Regions from separate parts of the Homo sapiens genome. Here region 2 is linked to region 1. Evidence: promoter capture Hi-C in 16 types of primary human blood cells and fetal thymus (Javierre and others, 2016). All regions are on one chromosome and are shown on one strand. The core of a region is centred on a gene start or on the middle of the fragment in contact, and the rest is flanking DNA. Distances in the headings are between cores, read along the strand shown.

Region 1 (5,527 bases), core at 2,934-5,433:
TCGCCTCATCTTTAATTTTGCAACCATCTTTCACAGGGTGATTTAATATTACAGGCTGCACGTGGTGGCTCATGCCTGTAATCCCAGCACTTTGGGAGGCTGAGGTGGGTGGATCACCTGAGGTTAGAAGTTCAAGACCAGCCTGACCAATATGGTGAAACCCTGTCTCTACTAAAAACACAAAAATTAGCCTGGTGTGGTGGCGAGCACCTGTAGTCCCAGCTACTCGGGAGGCTGAGACAGGAGAATTGCTTGAACCCAGGAGGCAGAGGTTGCAGTGAGTCATGATCACACCACTGCACTCTAGCCTGGGTGACAGAGCAAGACTCCATCTCAAAAATAAAAAATAAATAAATTAAATAAATAAACAAATAATACAGATCCTCTGTTTAAATACAAACCACTTCCCATCACCTCAGGGATAAAGTCCATACAGGGTAGGCCTGTGATGTATGCTCCCTGTCTGTCTTCCTCATCTCATCTCTGCCTGTTCCCCACAGGACCCAGGACCCCAGTCATGCTGATCCCTTCCCAGTTCACCTGAGCCCCATGCCTATCCCAGGGATTTGTGCATTTTTTGTCTTCCGTCCTGAGAGTTCTGGTTCCCTATCCATCCTCTGGTCCACCACCCATAACCTTCAAGTCTCACCTCCTATGTTAACATTTCAGAACCCTTGGCCATCTACTCAGAATCATTGAATCTGAATTAGAAAAGGATTCTTGGCTCTTCTCTCCCCTACCCCAAGGTGTTCATCAGGATTGCATGAAACTTTAATAAAACAGAAAAGATAAATCACTGGAATAGTCTTTGGAAAGAAGGAAAAATTGACACGAGCAAAAGGAAAAAACAAGATTGAGGATTGGTGGGGAGTGTGGGAGTTTTGGATGATGAGGCAAAACAGATCCCGCCCCTTGAAGAACATTTTGGAGGTGTGCAAACTAAGACACCCAAAGAGGCTGGATTGAGATGGACGCAAAAACTATTAGTGGCCACACACAAATGGAGGCAATGGGATGGGACTGCCTTCCACCATCATGGGCTACAACATCTTGGAATTACAGACAGGAAAACATTTGTGATCTTGAGCCTAGCTAGCAGGGGTACAGTTTGGCTTCTACCTGTCAACATGTCTGCTTACAGAGATATAATTTTTAAGAGTTTTGAAATAGTACATCTAAAGACACATCTTATTTTAGTAAATCATTTCTCTTGAGGGGCACTGAGATTAGTCTTGCTTTTCCACTATGTGTAATTATTGCATATGCCTCCGTGAGTATTTCCACAGGCCAGATTTGGAGGAGCAGAATTACCAGATCAAAGCTATTGCCAAATTTCCTTTCAAGTAGCTTGGATCAATTTATTCTCTCACCAGCAATGTTTGAGATTGTTTTCATTGACATTCCTTAGCACATTATTTTTTTTTAATTTTCCAATCAAATGAGCTAATTTATGTTTGTCTCAAATTAGAGAGTCTTGTTAAAATCATATGTAGGTCATGTGTTATTTTTTAATGCCTGCAAAACTCAAAATCCTGTATTTCATCTCTTTACCTCTATATTATATTACCCTATAATATAAATTCTAAATCCCATAATTCCATTGTAAACTTTTTAAGACTTTCTTGGTGTGGGGGACTTGCAGGTAAATTGCTGAAAAGTGATCACTGAAAAACTTGAATATTGTTTTGTTCATGATTTAATTATGATAATGTAACCAAATCTGTATTACATGTTCCAGTTTTTTTTCAGTGAATGATGCTAGACCTTTACCTAAACAAAAAGCTTCTTTAGGAAGGACCTCCCTGTATAAAATAGCATCTGCAGTTTCCTTACTCTTATCTTTAAAAATACCTGTTCCTTAGAGCTGGAAATAATCACTTAATCACATACCTTAGATTATATCCCTATTATTTCAGCTTGTATTGAATTTATTGATGAATGCTCTAAAATATTGCTCATTAATATTTCAATTTCTGTTACAAATCATATAATTTGGGATTATCTATTCTTGTATCAAATATGAAGTGATTCTTAACAAATTAATTTCTGAAAGTATAACTTTATGGCTAAGATAATACAATCATAAATCAAAAGCCCTCTCTTCTTCATATTAATATTACCAAGTAAATAAATAATTTTTTGTTTGGTTCTGCTTAGATTCTTATGACCAAAGTTAATGGCTACTTCCAAGGACGATCTGATGTGTGAATTTTCTTAGTTCAGAAAATGTAAACTTTGGTGCAGAAATATTAGTAAATATATTTTATCATAGTTTGGATTTTTCTTTATACTCCTTCTTGATATAAATTGAAAAATTAAACCTTTTGGATCATTTTTTGAATCACTTTCAATGTATTTTGATGCAAAATGAGAGGACTAAAAAAATAAGAAACCTATCATAATAGTATTGTACTGATATAAATTTCTTTGGTGTTATAATTGTTAATCATTGTTAATCATGTTAATTATGCCAATTTCATTAACATTTACTTAATTGTAGGCATGTCAACTACAAATGCAATGCAAGATTCTTGATTGGATCCTGGATTTAAAACATAAAAAGATTCTAAAGGACATGTGGATAATTAGGAAAATTTGAATGTGTATCACATCTTAGATAATAGTATTGTGTTGATGTTATGTTTCCGTGGTGTTGTAATGTGTTATAGAAGACTGCCTTTATTTTTAGGAGATACATGCTCAAGAATTTAGGGGTGACATGTGTCCTAAAGTCAGCAACATACTTTCAAACCATTCAGGGAAAAAACTGTGCATATGTGCATGCGTGTGTGTGAATATATATATACACATATAGAGAGAGAGAAAAGGACAGGCAGAGACAGAGAAAGACAAAGCGAGAGAGAAAGTAAATGTGGCAAAAAGATACCACTGATTAATACACATGATGAAAATATGGGTGTTCGTTGTACTATTCTTTCAATTTTTATATAGATTTGAAACATTTCTAAATAAAAATTGGGAGGGGGAAAAAACCATATTTAGTTAATGAAGGCATATTTACATTGTATAATGTTTATTAAGAGCCTAGAGGGACAATATCTTATATATCTAAAATAATCACTACATATGAGATGAGAAATGTCTCAGTGACTTGATATAAATACTTCAAACATCATTTTGCTCTGAGATAATAGAATTAGTGTACTACCTTTGAATATCTCCAAAATTCCACTTATGATATGGATGTTTGACACAGACTTCAAATACTCTTCAATCCTCCAGAAGCTTCTCAAGCTCAGAAACAATCTTCTTCTCACACTGACCTATGCAAGAAATGTTATAAAATATCAATATAAATATTCTGTCCAAACCAGGTCTATATTTAAGCACAGATTCATATGCGCAAGACAAAGAATGTTTGAGCGAGTCTAAAGATAATTCAAACAAAACTCCACTCGTACATGCGCTATCTTTAATACCAAAAGGGAAGCTTTCCCCAAATCACCCAGATGAAAGTCGAAAAGCATCCTCACTATAGATCGCATTCATTTTGAATACATCCTGCCACACAGAAAAACACTATCACAAGCTTGCTGAACTGAATAATTGAGAGTCAAATCCAATTGGAAAGGACTGTGATTGTTTTCGTCTCTAAAACTGCATCACCGTAACTGAATTCAAGAGCTGTGTTGTCCCTGCAAAACCCTGCTTAGGTTTTTAGGCCTTCTTTTAAAAATGCAGAAGCTAAACCAGTGTGGCAATTAGTGAAAGAGGACTGCAAAAATAACACAATAAATATTTGCTCAGATCAGTCAAAAATTGTAGGTAAAAATATAAGTGTTTTAGAAATGCTTAGAATGTGGACACGAGGAGGTAAGGAAAGGAAGTATTGGGCTTAATTTCTCTTTATTTTTCAACTCCACTGAATGCTTGTTTAAACTCCCACTTGTCTCTGATATGGTAAGCTAGAAAAGCATTTTAGATGTCATAAGAATGGATCAGCGCTCTCGTGATAAAGGGCTAAGAAAGCGTGAGAAGACAGATGACAAAAAATAATAGCGGAGTTCTAGGGTCCTTTGCTTTCTTTTTCTTACCTTCACTAACCAATCTGCTCATCTGATCCGGCAGAAACACAGCAACTGACCAAACAGAGAGATGAACAAGCCAGCCAATGCTCTTTCCAGAAATTTTCACAAGCCTTTCACTGATGAGACCAGTAGACTGAGCTGCTCAGTGCAAAGCCATTCTTTTTATAATTGGTCCCATGGAAAAAGAGTTGTTTTTGTTCAAGTCCGATTTGTGCTAAAGAGGCAGTGGGAAGTCCCGGGAGGTGGGGAGGCAGTAACTGACAAAGCCACATCAAGCCACAGAATGGTGTTTCTTCCCCTTTTTCGAAAAATGAAACCTATCTACGAAACTGTCTCTTATTAAAATAGTTTATGGTTACACATTTTGTAAGAACCCTAGCAACAGAATTAAATTTCCTTTCTAGAAAAGTACATTATCTGGGATCCTTCACCCAAAAGAAAGCCAAAGTCACATATGACTTTAGGAAATTCTGTTTCGTTACTAATCTATAATTTTTAAGAAGTATTATTTCTCAATGGTACTTATAATTTTTAAAAATGTAAATGAAAAAAATTTTCTCGGCCGGGCGCAGTGGCTCACGCCTGTAATCCCAGCACTTTGGGAGGCCGAGGCAGGTGGATCAGGAGGTCAGGAAATCGAGACCATCCTGGCAAACACGGCGAAACCTCGTCTCTCCTAAAAATACAAAAAATTAGCCGGGCGCGGTGGCGGGCGCCTGTGGTCCCAGCTACTCGGGAGGCTGAGGCAGGAGAATGGCGTGAACCCGGGAAGTGGAGCTTGCAGTGAGCCGAGATCGCGCCACTGCACTCCAGCCTGGGCGACAGGGCGAGACTCCGTCTCAAAAGAAAAAAAAAAGAAAAAAGTTTTCCCTCTCCAAATACCGAAGGTCAAAACAATAATACATGGTGTGGGCAAAGTTGTGAAGAAACAAGCACTCTCAAACACTACTGATGAGATTGTAAACATATTTAGAGGGCAATTTCCCAGTATCTCTCAAATACAAATATTCATACCCTTTGACCCAACAATTGTATTTTTTATAAATTTGTCCAAGCTATATGTTTACACTTGTACACAAAGACTTATGTGAAAAGATATTTGTTGCAGCATTGCTTGAGAAAATAAATGACTAGAAAAAATTATATCCATAAATAAGATATTGGCCAAGTAAATGAGAACGTATGCATACTTAAAATCCTATGTAGGTTGTGTGCGGTGGCTCACGCCTGTAATCCTAGCACTTTGGGAGGCCGAGGCAGGTGGATCACTTGAGGTCAGAAGTTTGAGACCAGCCTGGCCAACATGGTGAAACCTTGTCTCTACTAAAAATACAAAACTTAGCCACGCGTGGTGGTGGGCACCTGTAATCCCAGCTACTCGGAGGCTGAGGCATGAGAATCCCTTGAACCCGAGAGGTGGAGGTCACAGTGAGCTGAGATTGTGCCACTGCACTCCAGCCAGGGTGACAGAGCGAGAC
Region 2 (5,631 bases), core at 1,981-4,480, 140 kb after region 1:
GTGTAATTTATGGTAACTTAACTGATAACAAGTAGACAGTCACCTTCTTTTATCATTTTAGGTTTTGGCTGCTATACTCTTTTCCTGTCCAGCTTTGAAACATTATTACCATCTTCCATTTTATTTCCTGCCTCTGAATTCAGAAGACCACATGTCTTTTGTGAATTAGAGATGTCTCTCATTTTTATTTCTTTAAAAGCTAAATCATACCATGTATTATATCCTGACAGCAAAATTATTTACTTTTTTCAGATAAGTGTTTTTATCTACCTTTTATTGTGTTATATTGAATCTAGTTTTTCAATCACAACAAAACACTTCTGTGTATTCCTGATGACAGAATTTAAAACAGTTATCTCCTGGAGCCTTAACAGTGACTATGTATTTTTTTTCTTTTGTTTTAATCTAAATAATACTCTGATTCTCAACTAATTACCTCTAATCAAAACCTTGATTTTCCTTTTGCTAAAATCATATTGCTTTCTCTTAAAAATATGGTGTAAGCATGTAACATCCTATCTTTTTCAATGGAAATGAGGTATATCAGCACGTGGTTTCCTAGAGTATAAAGTCCCACCAGCTGTGCCACAAAATCACTTTACTAGACTCCTAGCACAGTGGCTTCTAAAAATTCGCAGTTTAACTGTACTTGCCTAAAACAATTATGTATGCATTTCTTGGTTAGATGCTATTTAAGGACAGTGTCTTTGAGAGTATAAGGAGGAGGGACACCTGTTTTTGTTTTTCTTTTTCAATTAGGTCTAGAATTATACTGCCCATGGCAGCCATGGCCACATGCAGCTATTGAGCACTGGAAATGTGGCTAGTCTGAATTGAGATGTGCTGTAAGTGTAAAGTATATACCAGATTTCAAAGATAGTACAAAAAAAAATCTCAATAATTTAATATTGATTTCATGTTGAAATTTTTTTTAATACATTGGGTTAAATAAAATATTAATTTTACCTTCCTTTTACCTTTTTAATGTGGCAAAAATATAAATTACATATGTGACTCACTTTATATTTCTGTTGGACAGCACTGGTCTAGAAACTCTTACATATTTACTAGTATTTGGCAGCTGCTATCTCTGAATTGTCTGTTTCCAAAGGAAATTTGAATCTTAAATCTCTTTAAACCAAAATTTTACTTAGTTCTCTTGAATGATCCCACTAAGTACCTAAATATGTAAATGTGTCAAACTTAATACAACAACTTATTTTAGGCAGGGAATGAGCTGTGTTAGAGTCCCTTGTAAGGTATTTCTTGAATTGTTTTTGTCCCATTTTTAAAGCCTTGTCATATTTGCACAGCTATGCCAGATCTGTTCCTCAAATACTTCCTGTGGTTAAAAAGCCATTTTATATATGTAATGATACAGAGTACTGTATGTATGTCTACATATATAAAAATGTATAAACAGAACAATTGTGGCATTCTGTAGCTTTGCAGTAACATAGTAACTTCTCATAGAAGCTATGAATGATGGAATATACCAGCATATTCATTCTCTAGTTTACTTACATTTTGACAACTGACAACAAGAAGGCATGACCATTTGTAATTCAGTTAATAGAACTGAGGACAGGTCCCTACATTTAATATTACCTGACGTTTGGTTTGGAGTGACTCTGTGGAAGTAATTTACATTAATAATCTATATGAATGAACTATCAGAGCTAAAAAAAATTTCTTGGTATTCCTAATGGTTCGTGCTGATACTTCTTTTTTTTTTTGCCTTCAGGATCTTTTTATAATAGCTTTATTGAGATATAGTTCATATTCCACACAATTTACCCTTTTCAAATATACAGTTCAATGGTTTATAGTAATACTATATTTACAGATTTTTACAACCATCACCACAATCTAACTTTAGAACATTGTCACCACCCCAAAAAGAAACCCCATAACCACCCCCTATCCCCCAGCCCAGGCAACCACTAATCTACTTTCTGTCTCTATGGATTTGTCTGTTCTGGACATTTCATATGAATGGGATCGTACAATATATCGTCTTCTGTGCCTGGCTTCTTTCACTTTGCATAATGTTTTCAATGCTCATCCATGTTGTAGCATGTATTAAGACATCATTCCTTTTCATAGTCCAATAATACTCCATTGTGTAGACATACTGCGTTTTATCTATTCATCAGTCAGTGATATTTGGCTGATACTTTTTTAACATTAAAGAAATTAATGAAGTCAATATTTACATTTAGTAAGAACCTTCACATATATTCTCATATTGAGCCTCACAGTAATTTGTTTAGGTAAGTGTTGTCATAGTCATCATTTTATAGGTGAAGAAATGGAGGCTCAGAAAGCCTAAGTAACTTAGGCAAGTTACTTAGATGAACTTGCTAAGATTAACTTACTAAGTTACTTAGATTAGTTACTAAGATTACACAGCAATTAAGTACTAGAACTGGGACTCAAAGCCAGTTTATCCAACTCTGAAATATGTTTTTATTGTTATTGCCACAGCTCTAGGTGATTTTGTTTTAAAGAAAAATTACTTACTAGCTAGCTTCTTTGCTTTTTGTTTTCTTGATTTACTATACTGTTAGATATGGGAAACAGACTTGAAAAAACTTTTAATGTGGCCTCTCCCAATAATTTTATGAACAATATGGCAATATATTTCTAAGTGATAACATACCTCAGTAGCTTAGCAACAGACAGAAAATTGTTCAAGAAGCAAACTGATCAAAGATCAATGTCCACCTATGGGGACAAATCCAAGGGTGTGCTGGAAAGCTCACTTCTTTTCCTCATCCCGTGAAAAACTTTTATTAGTGACTTAGATAAAACTATGTTTGTATTAGAAGACCTAGTTTACATATTTGTCGGAGTCTCAAAATGGAAACTGAATTCTGTCCATCTGATTGTGTCATACACAGAATATGCTCAATAAAAACCTTGGATAGTGATAAAATATATTCTGTCTTGAATTCCTTTTTTTCTTTAGGGTTCTGTAGCTATAGCTGGTGCTGTTATTCGCTGGCTAAGAGACAATCTTGGAATTATAAAGACCTCAGAAGAAATTGGTGAGTGTGTTCTAACAAAAGGTTAGAAAATCTGAAAAATGACACATTTCAGTATTTTATCTCTGCAAAGTAAATACTTATGCTTTGCCCCAAATGTGATCCATAAATTATATGGATCCCTATTATGAGTTTGACTTATGCAAAAGACTATCTTGTGAAGATTTATAAAACAAGGAATTGACATAATTAGTGGTGGTTGTTAATAAACTGGCAATGTAGGGCATAAAAATTACCCAAGTGTAAAATTGAACACTGGAGATTGCCAGAACCTGCAGATAGAGAAGTTGAGTTAAATTTATCTGATGAGAAAGAGCTTTAACTCTTAGATTAGAGTGAGCATTAAAACTCTGGTACCTATAATTTAAGTATTAATACGGCTGTTTTCAGTCTATAGATAATTAGTTTGAACTTACCTACTCACTCTTTCATCCACTTGCTTAACTTTGCCTGAAGGTGAGACAATCAGAAATACATTTCTGATTAGGGACACACTAGAGGCCACTTTTTCATCTCCTAGTCAGCAACCTTAAAAATAGTGGAAATGAGCTAAAATACCTTAAATAAATGAATCTGGTTCCTTGATTTCTTGAGCTAGGCTACATTTTAGTGGGGGGTATTTAATGTGAGAGAAACTCATTTCTGTTGATCCTAGCATACTACTGTAGTTAGCAACATTTTGCTCTACCAATGAATTGGAAACCAAAACCCCTGTCCTAATTTTTCTAATTTTTAAAATAGGTATGCTTATATAATAATACACAATATTTGTGTGATTTTTGTTTTGTTTTGTTTTTAATGTTAGAAAAACTTGCTAAAGAAGTAGGTACTTCTTATGGCTGCTACTTCGTCCCAGCATTTTCGGGGTTATATGCACCTTATTGGGAGCCCAGCGCAAGAGGGTAAGTATTGAAAATATGGAGTGCTTTTGGGGATCTTGATTTATTTACCAAAGTCGTTAATAACTTATTAGTTTCTTATCTATTTTCAAATAATTATAATGTGTTGAGAAAACCTTTTCTTTTTGGAGAATATAATTTCAGAAACTTTAAGCTCCAAGAAGTTATGAATCAGCTGACAATAACCCCTGCCATATCCGTATTCATGTTATCTTTTATCTTCATGATGTCTGTAAGTTGTATAGTGAAGGGACATCATCATAATGAATACTGATTCAGTTTTATGATGCCATCATCTTTTCAAATGTGTCATGAATTTTTTCATACATGAATGCAGAATTGTGAAATATAAGGACTTTCTGAGTTACTTAATGATTATGTCCAATTTTCTCTTCCTGGACATTTCTGTCTACCAAATTTGACCTTTTCATATTTGAGATATTTCAAATTGATTGGTTTATATCATTCTAATCTGAAAATCTTTGTGCGTATTTTTAGGATAATCTGTGGACTCACTCAGTTCACCAATAAATGCCATATTGCTTTTGCTGCATTAGAAGCTGTTTGTTTCCAAACTCGAGAGGTAACAAATATGGGCCTGTTTTCTTGTACTTAGTTCACTTTTATCACTCTTAAGTTATATGTTAACACCCGAGATTTATTCAGTACTGAAAATGTAGTTAATCAAATATTAAGGCTGCCTAAATACTAATCTAAATATAAGCAGGGTTTTCCCCCTTTTTCCAGCTGTCATTACCTTCTAAGTTCCTGTTCCCTGTCAGGCACTGGGAATTTTATGGTTGTGGGGAGGCTGAGTGGCACACATTAGGCAAAGGAAACAGCACAAACATAGGCATCAAGGCAGAAAAACAGGGTGCAAAATAGAGTTGTATAGCTTAGCTGAATATCAAGGTGAATGCAGAGGTGTAGTGAGAGAAAAGGTTGGCTGTGACCAGATCAAAGAGGGCTTAGAAGACCAGAATAAGAAGTCTCAATTTATTCCATAGGCTCTTGGAAGCTCTTGAGAGTTTCTGAGTGGAGGATTGCCATTTTCAGAGATGTTACTATGAAATAGATTTATAACATTAATTGCACTGGTTTATTTAAGATTTTGGATGCCATGAATCGAGACTGTGGAATTCCACTCAGTCATTTGCAGGTAGATGGAGGAATGACCAGCAACAAAATTCTTATGCAGCTACAAGCAGACATTCTGTATATACCAGTAGGTTAGTAAGTCTTCATTCCTTTAAACTCCCAGAGTAATGTTTCTTGTGGAATAACTAGTTCTTTGGGCATATGTAACCACAAAGATATTGATGGAACTCTCTCTCCTCAGTGAAGCCCTCAATGCCCGAAACCACTGCACTGGGTGCGGCTATGGCGGCAGGGGCTGCAGAAGGAGTCGGCGTATGGAGTCTCGAACCCGAGGATTTGTCTGCCGTCACGATGGAGCGGTTTGAACCTCAGATTAATGCGGAGGGTACATTTAAAGAATGAAATGTTCAGTGATATACTGTGAAAACGACCTTAGTGCACGGGAGTTTTGTTTTTCTGTTTAGTTAAAAGTTAAGGAACCAAGTAAAATAGTAAATGTTATCATTGCAGATTCGGCTGCCAAGCATATTGGGCTTTACTGAATAAATGTGAATGAGAGAAATCGTTGCTTATCAAAAGAACTTCTA

What was found. The method cuts DNA at HindIII sites, captures the fragments that hold promoters and counts their contacts. A CHiCAGO score of 5 or more calls a contact.
Region 2: a fragment that was not itself captured here is called in contact with the fragment with the promoter of TASL in region 1 in 11 of 17 cell types (neutrophils, monocytes, megakaryocytes and 8 more); the score reaches 23.6 in neutrophils.

Annotation. Positions count from the first base shown.
Region 1 is chrX:30,573,583-30,579,109 of GRCh38, forward strand. It overlaps TASL (TLR adaptor interacting with endolysosomal SLC15A4), which reads right to left and starts at 4,184. Exons shown (of 3, transcript NM_025159.3): 1 at 4,056-4,184; 2 at 3,170-3,284. RefSeq lists an enhancer at 4,206-4,415. The HindIII fragment of the contact is 8,514 bases long and covers 3,549-5,527 here.
Region 2 is chrX:30,715,567-30,721,197 of GRCh38, forward strand. It overlaps GK (glycerol kinase), which reads left to right. Exons shown (of 21, transcript NM_001205019.2): 14 at 2,972-3,050; 15 at 3,853-3,949; 16 at 4,445-4,529; 17 at 5,055-5,175; 18 at 5,286-5,429. GK-AS1 (GK antisense RNA 1) reads right to left here and starts at 2,533. Exons shown (of 1, transcript NR_046603.1): 1 at 1-2,533. The HindIII fragment of the contact is 6,655 bases long and covers 1-5,631 here.